Linked DNA regions of Homo sapiens: region 1 is linked to region 2. The links are contacts of gene promoters, found by promoter capture Hi-C in blood cells and fetal thymus (Javierre and others, 2016). All regions are on one chromosome and are shown on one strand. The core of a region is centred on a gene start or on the middle of the fragment in contact, and the rest is flanking DNA. Distances in the headings are between cores, read along the strand shown. Region 1 overlaps TCAIM (T cell activation inhibitor, mitochondrial). Region 2 holds the start of ZNF445 (zinc finger protein 445).

Region 1 (5,657 bases), core at 3,068-5,567, 130 kb after region 2:
GGGCCAAGGAATGCCTGCAGCCCAGGATTCCTCCTAGGCCGTGTCCCATCTGTGTGGGACCCCACTGGAAATCGGACTGTCCAACTTGCCCGGGAGCTGTTCCCAGAGCCCCTGGAACTCTGCCCCAAGGCTCTCTGACTGACTCCTTCCCAGATCTTCTCAGCTTAGTGGCTGAAGACTGATGCTGCCTGATGGCCTCGGAAGCCTCCTGGACCATCACAGACACTTTGGGTAACTCTTACAGTGGAGGGTAAGTCCGTCCCCTTCTTAATACAGAGGCTACCCACTCCACATTACCTTCTTTTCAAGGGCCTGTTTCCCTTGCCTCCATAACTGTTGTGGGTATTGACGGCCAGGCTTCTAAACCTCTTAAAACTCCCCAACTCTGGTGCCAACTTGGACAATATTCTTTTATGCACTACTTTTTAGTTATTCCCACCTGCCCAGTTCCCTTATTAGGTTGAGGCATTTTAACTAAATTATCTGCTTTCCTGACTATTCCTAGGCTACAGCCACACCTCATTGCCGCCCTTTCCCCCAGTTCAAAGCCTCCTTCACATCCTCCCCTTGTGTCTCCCCACCTTAATCCACAAGCATAGGACACCTCTACTCCCTTCTTGGTGACCAATCATGCACCCCCTTACCATCCCATTAAAAACTAATCACTCTTACCCTGCTTAAGGCCAATATCCCATCCCACAGCATACTTTAAAAGGATTAAAGCCTGTTATCACTTGCCTGTTACAGCATGGCCTTTTAAAGCCTATAAACTCTCCTTACAATTCCATTTTACCTGTCCAAAAACTGGACAAGTCTTACAGGTTAGTTCAGGATCTGTGCCTTATCAGCCAAATTGTTTTGCCTATCCACCCTGTGGTGCCAAACCCATATACTCTCCTATCCTCAATACGTCCCTCCACCACCCATTATTCTGTTCTGGATCTCAAAACATGCTTTTTCCACTATTCCCCTGCACTCCTCCTCCCAGCCCCTTTGCTTTTACCTGGACTGACCCTGACATCCATCAGTCTCAGCAACTTACCTGGGCTGTACTGCTGCAAGCCTTCAGGGACAGCCCCCATTACTTCGGTCAAGCCCTTTCTCATAATTTACTCTCTTTCTGTCCATCTACTTCACACCTTATTAAGTATTTTGATGACCTTCTACTATATAGCCCCTCCTATAAATCTTCCCAAGAGGACATCCTCCTGCTCCTCCAACATCTGTTATCAAAAGGATATCTCGTGTCGTCCTCCAAAACCCAAATTTCTTCCTCATCTGTTACCTATCTCGGCATAATTCTTCATAAAAACACACGTGCTCTCCCTGCTGATCGTGTCTGGCTAATCTCCAAAACCCCAACCCCTTCTACAAAACAACAACTCCTTTTCTTCCTAGGCATGGTTAGGTACTTCCGCCTTTGGATACCTAGTTTTACCATCCTGACTAAACCATTATATAAACTCACAAAAGGAAACCTAGCTGACACCATAAATCCTAAATCCTTTCCCTGCTCCCCTTTCCATTCCTTAAAAAACAGCCCTAAAAGCTGCTCCCATACTAGCTCTCCCTAACTCATCCCAACCCTTTTCATTACACACAGCCGAAGTACAGGGCTCTGTGGTCAGAATTCTTACACAAGAGCCAGGACTGCGCCCTGTAGCCTTTCTGTCCAAACAACTTGACCTTACTGTTTTAGCCTAGCCTTCATGTCTGCACGCGGCAGCTGCTGCTGCTCTAATACTTTTAGAGGCCCTCAAAATCACAAACTATGCTCAACTCACTCCCTACAATTCTCATAACTTCCATGTAGATTACAAGCCGCTAGCGTGCCTCTTAGAATCTCTCATTTCCTTTCCACCATGGACATTCTACCCTCAAGGAAATCATTTCTCAGTGTTCCATCTGCTATTCTACTACTCCTCAGGGATTGTTCAGGCCCTCTCCCTTCCCTACACATCAAGCTCGGGGATTTGCCCCTGCCCAGGACTGGCAAACTGACTTACTCACATGCCCCGAGTCAGGAAACTAAAATACCTCTTGGTCTGGGTAGACACTTTCACTGGATGGGTAGACGCCTTTCCCACAGGGTCTGAGAAGTCCACCGTGGTCATTTCTTCCCTTCTGTCAGACACAATTCCTTGGTTTGGCCTTCCCACCTCTATACAGTCCGATAATGGACCAGCCTTTACTAGTCAAATCACCCAAGCAGTTTCTCAGGTTCTTGGTATTCAGTAGAACCTTCCCCTTACCGTCCTCAATCTTCGGAAAAGGTAAAACGGACTAATGATCTTTTAAAAACACACCTCGCCAAGCTCAGCCTCCAACTTAAAAAGGACTGGACAATACTTTTACCACTTGCCCTTCTCAGAATTCGGGCCTGTCCTCGGGACGCTACAGGGTACAGCCCATTTGAGCTCCTATGGATGCTCCTTTTTATTAGGCCCCAGTCTCATTCCAGACACCAGCCTAACTTGGACTGTACCCCAAAAACTTGTCATCCCTACTATCTTCTGTCTAGTCATACTCCTATTCACCATTCTCAACTACTCATAAATGCCCTGCCCTTGTTTCCACTGCCGGTTTACACTTTTCCTTCAAACCATCATAACTGATACCTTCTGGTTTTACCTCAAACCACCACCCTTAAGTCTCTCTTAAAGTGGATAGATGATCTTGCTGGCAGGGTACACTCCAATACTTTCACCTTGATGAAGTCCTATTCTTTACTTTCATACTCACTCTTATTCTTGTTCCCGTTCTTATGCCACCCTCTACCTCTCCCCAGCTATCTCCACCACACTATCAATCTCACTCACTCTCTCCTAGCCGTTTCTAATCCTTCTTTAACAAACAATTGCTGGCTTTGTATTTCTCTTTCCTCCAAAATCGTGGAGGACTCGTTAGTCACTGCTAAAAAAAAAGGGGACTCTGTATATTAAACGAAGAGTGTTGTTTTTACCTAAATCAATCTGGCCTGGTATATGACAACATAAAAAAACTCAAAGATAGAGCCCAAAAACTTGCCAACCAAGCAAGTAATTATGCTGAACCCCCTTGGGCACTCTCTAGTTGGATGTCCTGGGTCCTCCCAATTCTTAAGTCCTTTAATACCTGTTTTTCTCCTTCTCTTATTTGGACCTTGCGTCTTCTGTTTAGTTTCTCAATTCATACAAAACCGTATCCAGGCCATCACCAATCATTCTATACAACAAATGCTCCTTCTAACAACCCCACAATATCACCTCTTACCACAGAATCTTCCTTCAGCTTAATCTCTCCCACTCTAGGTTCCCACGCCGCCCCAATCCTGCTCGAAGCAGCCCTGAGAAACGTCGCCCATTATCTTTCCATACCACCCCCAAAAATTTTCAGGGCCCCAACACTTTACCACTATTTTATTTTTCTTATTAATGTAAGAAGACAGGAATGTCAGGCCTCTGAGCCCAAGCCTGAACGTATACATCCAGATGGCCTGAAGTAACTGAAGAATCACAAAAGAAGTGAAAATGGCCGGTTCCTGCTTTAACTGATGACAATACCTTGTGAATTGAATTCCTTCTCCTGGCTCAGAAGCTCCCCGACTGAGCACCTTGTGACCCCCGCCCCTGCCCGCAAGAGAACAATCCCCTTTGACTGTAATCTTCCCCACTACCTACCCAAATCCTATAAAACTACCCCACCCCTAACTCCCTCTGCTCTCTTTTTGGACTCAGCCCGCCTGCACCCAGGTGAATAAAAAGCTTCATTGCTCTCTCCAAGCCTGTTTGGTGGTCTCTTCACACGGACGCGTGTGACAGTAATAAGGTCATTAGTGCCCTTATAAAAAGTCCTGTCCTCTGATCAAAACTATCAGAAAAAAGGAAAATTACAAAAAAGGAAAAAGAAAAAAGCCCCAGAGGGCTATCTTGCCCCCTACCATGTGAAGTTATAGCAAGACAACAAATCTGCAGACATCTTGATGTTGAATTTCCCAGACTCCAGAACCGCAAGAAATATATTTCTGTTGTTTTTAAGCTATCTGGTTTATGATAGTTTGACACAGCAGCTGAAGACTAAGATAGTATCCTTAATGACTTTTAATCATGGAGGATAAAGTATGTTGTGTGTAAGATGGAATTATGTAGCACATTTCAGAAGCATTTCAGAAGCATTTCTGAGGCTCGGTATGGTGGCTCATCCCTGTAATCATAGCACTTTGGGAGGTGAAAATGGGCAGGAGTTCAAGACCAGCCTGGCCAACATGGCAAAACCCCATCTCTGCTAAAAATACAAAAATTAGCTGAGTGTGGTGACACACGCCTGTAATTCCAGCTACTTGGGAGGCTGAGGCCTTGAGCCTGGGAGGTGGAGTTTGCAGTGAGCTGAGATTGCACCACTGCACTCCAACCGGGGTGATGGAGTGAGACTCTCTCAAAAAAAAAAAAAAAAAAGCATTTCCATCAAAAATAATCAAAGCAAAATAAAATTTGTGTAAAGTTCAAGGTCTTTAGTTATCCAGAAAAATACATTCATCCACTAATCGCTTTGTAATCACAGAGTATAACTAAACTACTACTGAGAAATGACTAATAAAGGACATTAGTGCTTAGAAATGTGACAATAGATTTTCTCAACAAAAATAAAATGTTACCAAATACAAATCTAAACATTAAATCATGGTTTCCAGATTTAGAAAGAGAGCACTAAAAAAATGACAGGTTGAGAATTAGGTGTTTTCTATCTGCTTATTTTGTGAGCAAGCTATTTCCTAAAAAGGTTTACATTTCAGTAGAGTAATAGAATTACAATCTAGGCCTCTGCTGTCTAAAACAGTAGGCAGCCACTAGCCACATGTAGCTACTGTGCACTTGAAATGTGGTTAGTCTAAATAGAGATGTGTTAAGCTTAACATACCCACTGGATTTAAAAGATTCAGTACAAACAATGGAAAGTATCTCAGTAATAATTTTTCATATTGGTTATGTGTTGAAATTATAATTTATTAAAATTAATTTCACTTTTACTTTTTAAAAAGTAAAACATCTAGTTTTTAGAAAATTTTAAATTATATCCAAGGCTTACATTCTATTTTTATTGGATTGTGCTGATCTAAACACTTCCAGTGAATGTGACTGTCAAAGTAGGTAGTTTGCATAATGGTTAGGAAATGGAGGCTAGGGGGCTTGAGATTTGTATTCAAATCTTGACATCTTCAGTGACTGTGTGAGCAAGGGCAAGTTACGTTACCTTCTGGAGTCTGTTTCCTCATCTCTTAAATAACATAGATGGTTAAGAAAAGTCTGTTGTAACACCAAAACATTTCTTCTTTTTTTTTTTTGAGACAGAGTCTCGCTCTGTCACCTGCGCTATAGTGCAGTGGCATGATCTCGGCTCACTGCGACCTCTGCCTCCCAGGTTCAAGCGATTCTCGTGCCTCAGCTTCCCGAGTAGCTGGGATTACAGTCGCCTGCCACCGCACCCAGCGAATTTTTGTATTTTTAGTAGAGATGGAGTTTCTCCATGTTGGCCAGGCTGGTCTCGAACTCCTGACCTCAGCTGATCCTCCTTCCTCGGCCTCCCAAAGTGCTGAGATTACAAGCCTGAGCCACTGTGTCCAGCCTTAAAATGTTTATTTAATGTGAATCAGCTTATATGCAATTGGTCAATAGGGGAAA
Region 2 (6,013 bases), core at 2,496-4,995:
GTGTGGATCACCTGAGATCAGGAGTTCAAGGCCAGCCTGGCCAACATGGTGAAACCCTGTCTCTACTAAAAATACAAAAATTAGCTGGGTGTGGTGGTGGGCGCCTGTAATCTCAGCTACTCAGGAGGCTGAGGCAAGAGAATCACTTGAACCCAGGAGGCAGAGGTTGCAGTGAGCTGAGATCGTGCCACTGCACTCCAGCCTGGTGACAGAGTGAGACTCCGTCTCAAAAATAAATAAATAAATAAATAAATAAATAATAAAGACCAAATTAGGTTTTGTTAGTGATTCTAGATTCGGGCAACATCTCATTCTATAAAATAGAACGGGTATTCTGATAAGCTGAACAGAGGAGATTGGCTTTATAAGCAGAAAAAGGCCAAAGAAAGCAAAAATAGGGAACCAAAGGCAGACTGGTTGGCATTAGTTATTTCAGATTACTTTCCTTGTAAGGATTAAAGCGGAGGGGCCTTCGTTATCATGCCAGCTAAATCTGGCCTGTTTGAGGATTTGGCTATTATCACAATAGAGACCTCCTAAGGGCCTGGGTTAGACATAGAGAAGATTGATTAGTCAACAAATGTTTATTGAGTACATACTATGTAGTCAGTGCTGTTCTAAGTACTTGAGGTATAGCAATGCATAAAAGCAAAGATTCCATAGTTTTTCTTCCTCATGGCTATGGTCTGACTCAAAGATTCTTTCACCCCCTCCACTACCAATAAAGTTTAAATTCGTGTATATTCTCTCCTGGCTTCCTGATCCTCTCTCTTTCTCTACTTTTATGTTCAGATGCAAGGAATATCCTCTGCAGAAAAAGATGGAGGGTGGAGGAGGGAGTTGAGTTCAATTTTTCATTTTAAGTCCTTCATTAGTACTAAATGCATCAGTATTTCTTTGATATAAATGATAATTTTAAAATTCATTTAAAGTTGGATCACCTTCTAAAATCTCATTAAAATGTATTTTTCAATATCTTAGAATTAGAGGCAGAAGGGGGAATTCAGAGAAGATTAATTATATGATATAATATGTAATATATTTCAAATGGCCACAATTACACATAATTTAACTGCTTAAACATTTGTTTTATGTTTTTCTTATAGAAGAGTACACTAATCCAATGGATCACAGTAATCACCATCCTCAGATACATTGCTCTATTTTATTTTCATCCTAATATTTCAACCTGCCTCCTTCAAACTACAGAGAAGGGGCTGAGTTTGAGGCCAGAAAAGGAGTGAAAATCCTACCAGGCCAATTTGTTTGCCCACAACTGATTCTTAGTTTTAACATCTTATCTCTTTTCTCAAGTCACATTCCAGATCCCCATCTCAACACCCCAATTTTTTCTTCCCCATTTCAAAATAAGAAGAAAAAAATTAAGGAGGAAATTTCCCCCTTCTGTTTGAAAGGCAGAATCCTGATACACTTTAAATTCCAAAACAAAGAAGCAAATGAACATGCAATCCTTTAGCATGTGGTTTTTACATGTAGCAAGGAATCAGGGTAAAAGGATAATTATCTACTTCCAGGTTCTCAAATGTTGGAATCATCTAGGGATTTTAAAATCTAGGCTTGTCAGTGTCTCACCCACAAAGATTTGGATTGAATTGATATGAGGTATGGACTTTTTAAAAGCTCTGAGGAGGATTCTAATCTGCAGCAAAGTTAAGAACCACTGATTTACATGCACAGTTCTTTGCTTCTCCAAGTGTGGTCCAAGAACTGCAATATGGGTACACCTGGAAGTTTGTTAAAAATATTCGTTGGTCCCTCCCCAGACCTCCTGAATTTGAATCTACAGTTTAACCAGATCCCAAGTGATTTGTATTCATATGCACATGAGAATTTGAGAATCTTACCTAGGGCTTTTACTAAGCAAACTGCCCCGATCTGAAAGAGTACAGTGCTCAGGAAGTACAGCTAGCAAGAATATGCCTCCTACCAGAAAAGTGAAGAAACCTCATGGTTATAGGCTCGAGTGCTGTGGCACTCGGAGAAATCAGGTATTAGCAGAACTTCGAGATTCAAGAAGCTGTATAGGTCTTAAAATCAGAGCTGCACTCCCAGTGGCTGCTTCCCGAACTTTGCAAGTGCTGGTGAAGCCAATTTGGTTGATCTGTTTGATCACACTAAATGTGGGTGCTATCCATGCTAACCACCTATCACGTTGAAAAACATCCAGTAAGTACATCCCAAACACAGAGAACCTGCTCAAACTCTTCTACGATGGGAAAATTTTGTTCTCAAACAAAACTTGAAAACTCTTCTCACCACTATGGGTGGTTCTGAGTCACTCAAGAACATTATATCGAGTGGAAATTAATGGACAAATTAGGCATTGACAAGCAGTTTCTATTTTCCTTTTTGTATGTGTTGGATATTTTCCAATTGCCCCTCCATATTCAGTCTCAGTCCTCAACCCTGCTGTGACACTTGGGAGACTGAGTTTCCTGGATTGCCCTCTGGCTTCCAGTTGAGTTGGGCCAATGGGAAGCCCTGGCAGGAGATCAGAAGAGAGCTGGGTTCAGGTTATTTATTACCTCAGCTTCCTTTGTGCTGGACTATGGCTTGGATGTAGCCCTCAACTGAAAGCCACAGTTTCTCTCAGATGGCCTGCTCCTAGGGGTGAGAATAGCTTCTAAATTTTGCTAGCCATGGGATTCTGCACCACTCCGTGTTGCATTTCCTTAACCCTGTCCACTTTGTGTAAATCGCCCCTTGTGAACTCTCCCCACTTACCTTGTTTGAATGTGCCATCTGTTTCTCTATCACCTTGTCACCATCTTCCTGGTGTTCAGGATCTATTCTCTGTTTCCATCTTTGGTGACTGGGGCATTAAAAAGGGGTGGATCAGATGAGTAAAGCAAAGCCTCAGGGCACAGATGGGCATCATCAATGCCCATCTGAAAGATCAATCGTCAACATGTTGCAGCCTGCCACTAGGAAGCACAAACCAGAGGACTACCAGGACAGCAGCTTGTAGCATGCCCTCCAATGGCAGCAGATGGCCTTATGGCTTTGGCTGTGCACCCTCAAGGTTCTCTGGCACTGGCAATAGATGACATTTGCTCCTACAGGGGGTGGGCAACCTCTCCAGGTTGCTTCACCTCCTCTTCAAGCAGCCCCTCCACCCCCTACCCCCAACCTACTCCTCCCAGATTCCACATATTATTGGGCAATGGCATCATTGTTCACTCACCAGGCGAGCCTAGTTAGAATTCACCCACAGGAGAAAACGAGTGAAGGCCGTGGGAAGCTAAAGTATGGTGCACCTCTGAGCTGGCTATGAACAAGTATTCCTGGGTATGGTGATGATGGGGATGAGCTCGTCTTGGAAAGGCAGGAGTTCTGGCACCTAGCTTCCCGTAGGATCTGGTTCCCCTCTTTGAAGTGTACCCAGGCGAAGAATGAGTGGCTCCCTTAACCCCTTCTCCTGGCCAGGACCAGTCTGCTAGATACTGCTGGCCCTATTTTCACCCCTAGCTTTGGATCCCTTTCTTCCCTGGAGGGAAAGAGGCCTTCAGGGCAGCCCCGCAGACACGACAGGAGGGATGCAAGAAAACAGGCGCGGCTGGGCATCCGAGCGTGGAAGGGAAATGTCCAACTGAGGGAGGTGAGGGATGTTGGACAAGCCCCGCCGCCCGCCGCACCGGAGCCGGAGAGAAGCAGAGACGTTGGGCCTCCCAGTTTCCTAGAGAGGCCGCGGAGGGCCCCGGGCGCCGACGCGCGTGCGCGACTGGAGCCGCCGGGAGGTAGGCGCGGGACGGGCGGCTGCGGTGGCGGCGGGTGGACCGATTGTCGCTCGGCGGCGGGAGTCGGTGAGAGGCCTGGCGGGGCGCGGGGGTGGGGGTGGCGGCATTGCGGGCGCGGGGCTCCCCGAAGTCCGCGGCATTCTCGGGCCTGCCCGGGCGGCGGACGGGGCCCGGCCTGGAGGCTGCGCCCGTGGCGGGGGTCTGGCGGTGGATCCCGCCCCCGCCACGCTGAGGGCGTATCTAGAACCTCTTTGCCTCCCAGGCGTCCGGGGTAGAGAATCTGGAGCCCGGGTTTCTCCGGGCTTTCTCGTTTCATCCAATTCTGCATATAAAGCGTATTTATCAGAGACAATTAGATAACACGGGAAAGTAGAAGAAAAGTAAAAGTAGCCGCAATCCTGAAATCTGTCTCCAGGCCTCCTGACATTTAAAATATCTGTGCATAATTCTGCACACTGACATCCATAAATATATATTACGAAATGAGAGCGTGCTCTTGCTTTTTAAAAAACCTGTTAGTATTATTGTGAGGAAACAATATTGTGCCAAAATAACACATAACATTTACCATACAATACATAAACGTTTACCATTTAACCATTTGGAAGTGTGTAATTCAGTGACATTAAGTATATCCATACTACTGCTTTTTAAAAATTATAATCTCCTGAATTTGTAGAATGCATTTGTTCTTATTTTGGCTAAAATTAGTGCTGGCATTATGACACCACTAAAACATTTTTTTTTTGGCGAGGATAATTAAGAAATCGTGTTTGCAGTTTATTTTCTGTAGGAGACACATTTGCATGAAGCTCTAAATGGTGAAGTGACATTTGTGCAGAAAAATAGCAAAATCTTGTTTGTCAGGGTGGTTATCTTTCACAATGAAGTAACTAGTATATAAAATGCAGTTTTTAAACAAAGGCAGAGCTCTAACCTGCAGCGATTGTAGCACACTCTGACTTGCACAGGCCTAAGAGATCAGAGTATTGTCTCCTTCCGAATTTAAAAGTGGTGGCCAGGAAAGAATGTTATTCTGTTTCAAACGGCTTGTAGTGCAAAACTAAAAACTCAGTATTAGGTTGGTTGTTTTGCAAGGAAGTGCCAGGGAGTGGTTTGAGCAGTAATTTGATTAAGCAGTTTCAGAGAGCCTCCATGTGTTGTGTGTGTGTCTGCGTGTGTGTGTGTGCATGCATGTGTGTGCATATTCAGGGACCAAAGAATTAGGCTGCTCTTTTATGTTATCTTAATGAAAGGCAGACACATTTTGGTTAGAAAAAAAAAAAAGTCTTACTGTAAGCCGAAAAGATGAGAATGTTTTGAAGATAAACCTCAGTATGCACTTAAAAAGGAAACTGACAAAAAGCATGAAAAATGGCAAGTATTCCACCGCTAGGTTTTCTCTGGCTTCCGGTATCCAGGAAGAATTAGTGCATAAGCAGTCTACGATGTCAGAGAGTAAACTATAGTAAAACATAACACTGTATTTTGCAATTTTCAAGATTTTGTATTAGAAACAATGTGAAAGAGTACATTTCTGTGACTCTCAGGCGAATTGTTAGGTGTTCTGTAAGATTGAATTTATGAATTTCTTTTTTTCCTTCCTATTCTTAAATTTATTTTCTTTTTCCTTGTTTATTTTATTTATTTTATTTTTGAGACGGAGTTTCACTCTTGTTGCCCAGGCTGGAGTGCAGTGGTGCAAACTCGGCTCACTGCAGCCTCCGCCTCCTGGGTTCAAGTGATTCTCCTGCCTCAGCCTCCCAAGTAGCTGGGATTACAGGTGTGTGCCACCACGCCCAGCTAATTTTTGTATTTTAAGTAAAGACGGGGTTTCACCGTATTGGTCAGGCTGGTCTCGAACTCCCGACCTCAGGTGATCTGCCTGCCTCAGCCTCCCAAAATGCTGGGATTACAGGCGTGAGCCACCGTGCCCGCCTCTTGTTTTATATTACTATGTAGCAGCTGTCACTGTTTAGCATACCACGAATCTGTCTCCTCATAGACGCCTCAAGGCAGTACTGGAACATACAGTAGGTTCTCAATAAATATATGACAAATTAATGAAAGAAGGAATCCAAATTGGTAGATAAAAATTGACAGTATTAAATGTCCTCGATTTTTAAGAGCCACTTACCAAGTTAATCTTTAATACCTGGCTGAGCATGGTGGCTCATGCCTGTAATCCCAGCACTTTGGGAGGCTGAGGTGGGTGGGTCACCTGAGGTCAGGAGTTCAAGACCAGCCTGGCCAGC

Evidence for each region. Contacts are between HindIII fragments. The CHiCAGO score rates a contact against its expected background, and 5 or more counts as called.
Region 1: a fragment that was not itself captured here is called in contact with the fragment with the promoter of ZNF445 in region 2 in 8 of 17 cell types (monocytes, erythroblasts, total B cells and 5 more); the score reaches 8.7 in monocytes.

Annotation. Positions count from the first base shown.
Region 1 is chr3:44,342,800-44,348,456 of GRCh38, reverse strand. All of the region lies in intron 1 of TCAIM (T cell activation inhibitor, mitochondrial), which reads right to left. Among named protein-coding and RNA genes, the nearest start is that of TCAIM, 6.9 kb to the right of the region's middle. The HindIII fragment of the contact is 1,143 bases long and covers 3,746-4,888 here.
Region 2 is chr3:44,475,402-44,481,414 of GRCh38, reverse strand. ZNF445 (zinc finger protein 445) reads left to right here and starts at 3,745. Exons shown (of 8, transcript NM_181489.6): 1 at 3,745-3,824. It overlaps LOC101928529 (a long non-coding RNA gene), which reads right to left and starts at 3,725. Exons shown (of 4, transcript XR_940785.4): 1 at 3,206-3,725; 2 at 2,746-2,833. RefSeq lists silencers at 3,768-3,927, 3,948-3,997. The HindIII fragment of the contact is 9,006 bases long and covers 1-6,013 here.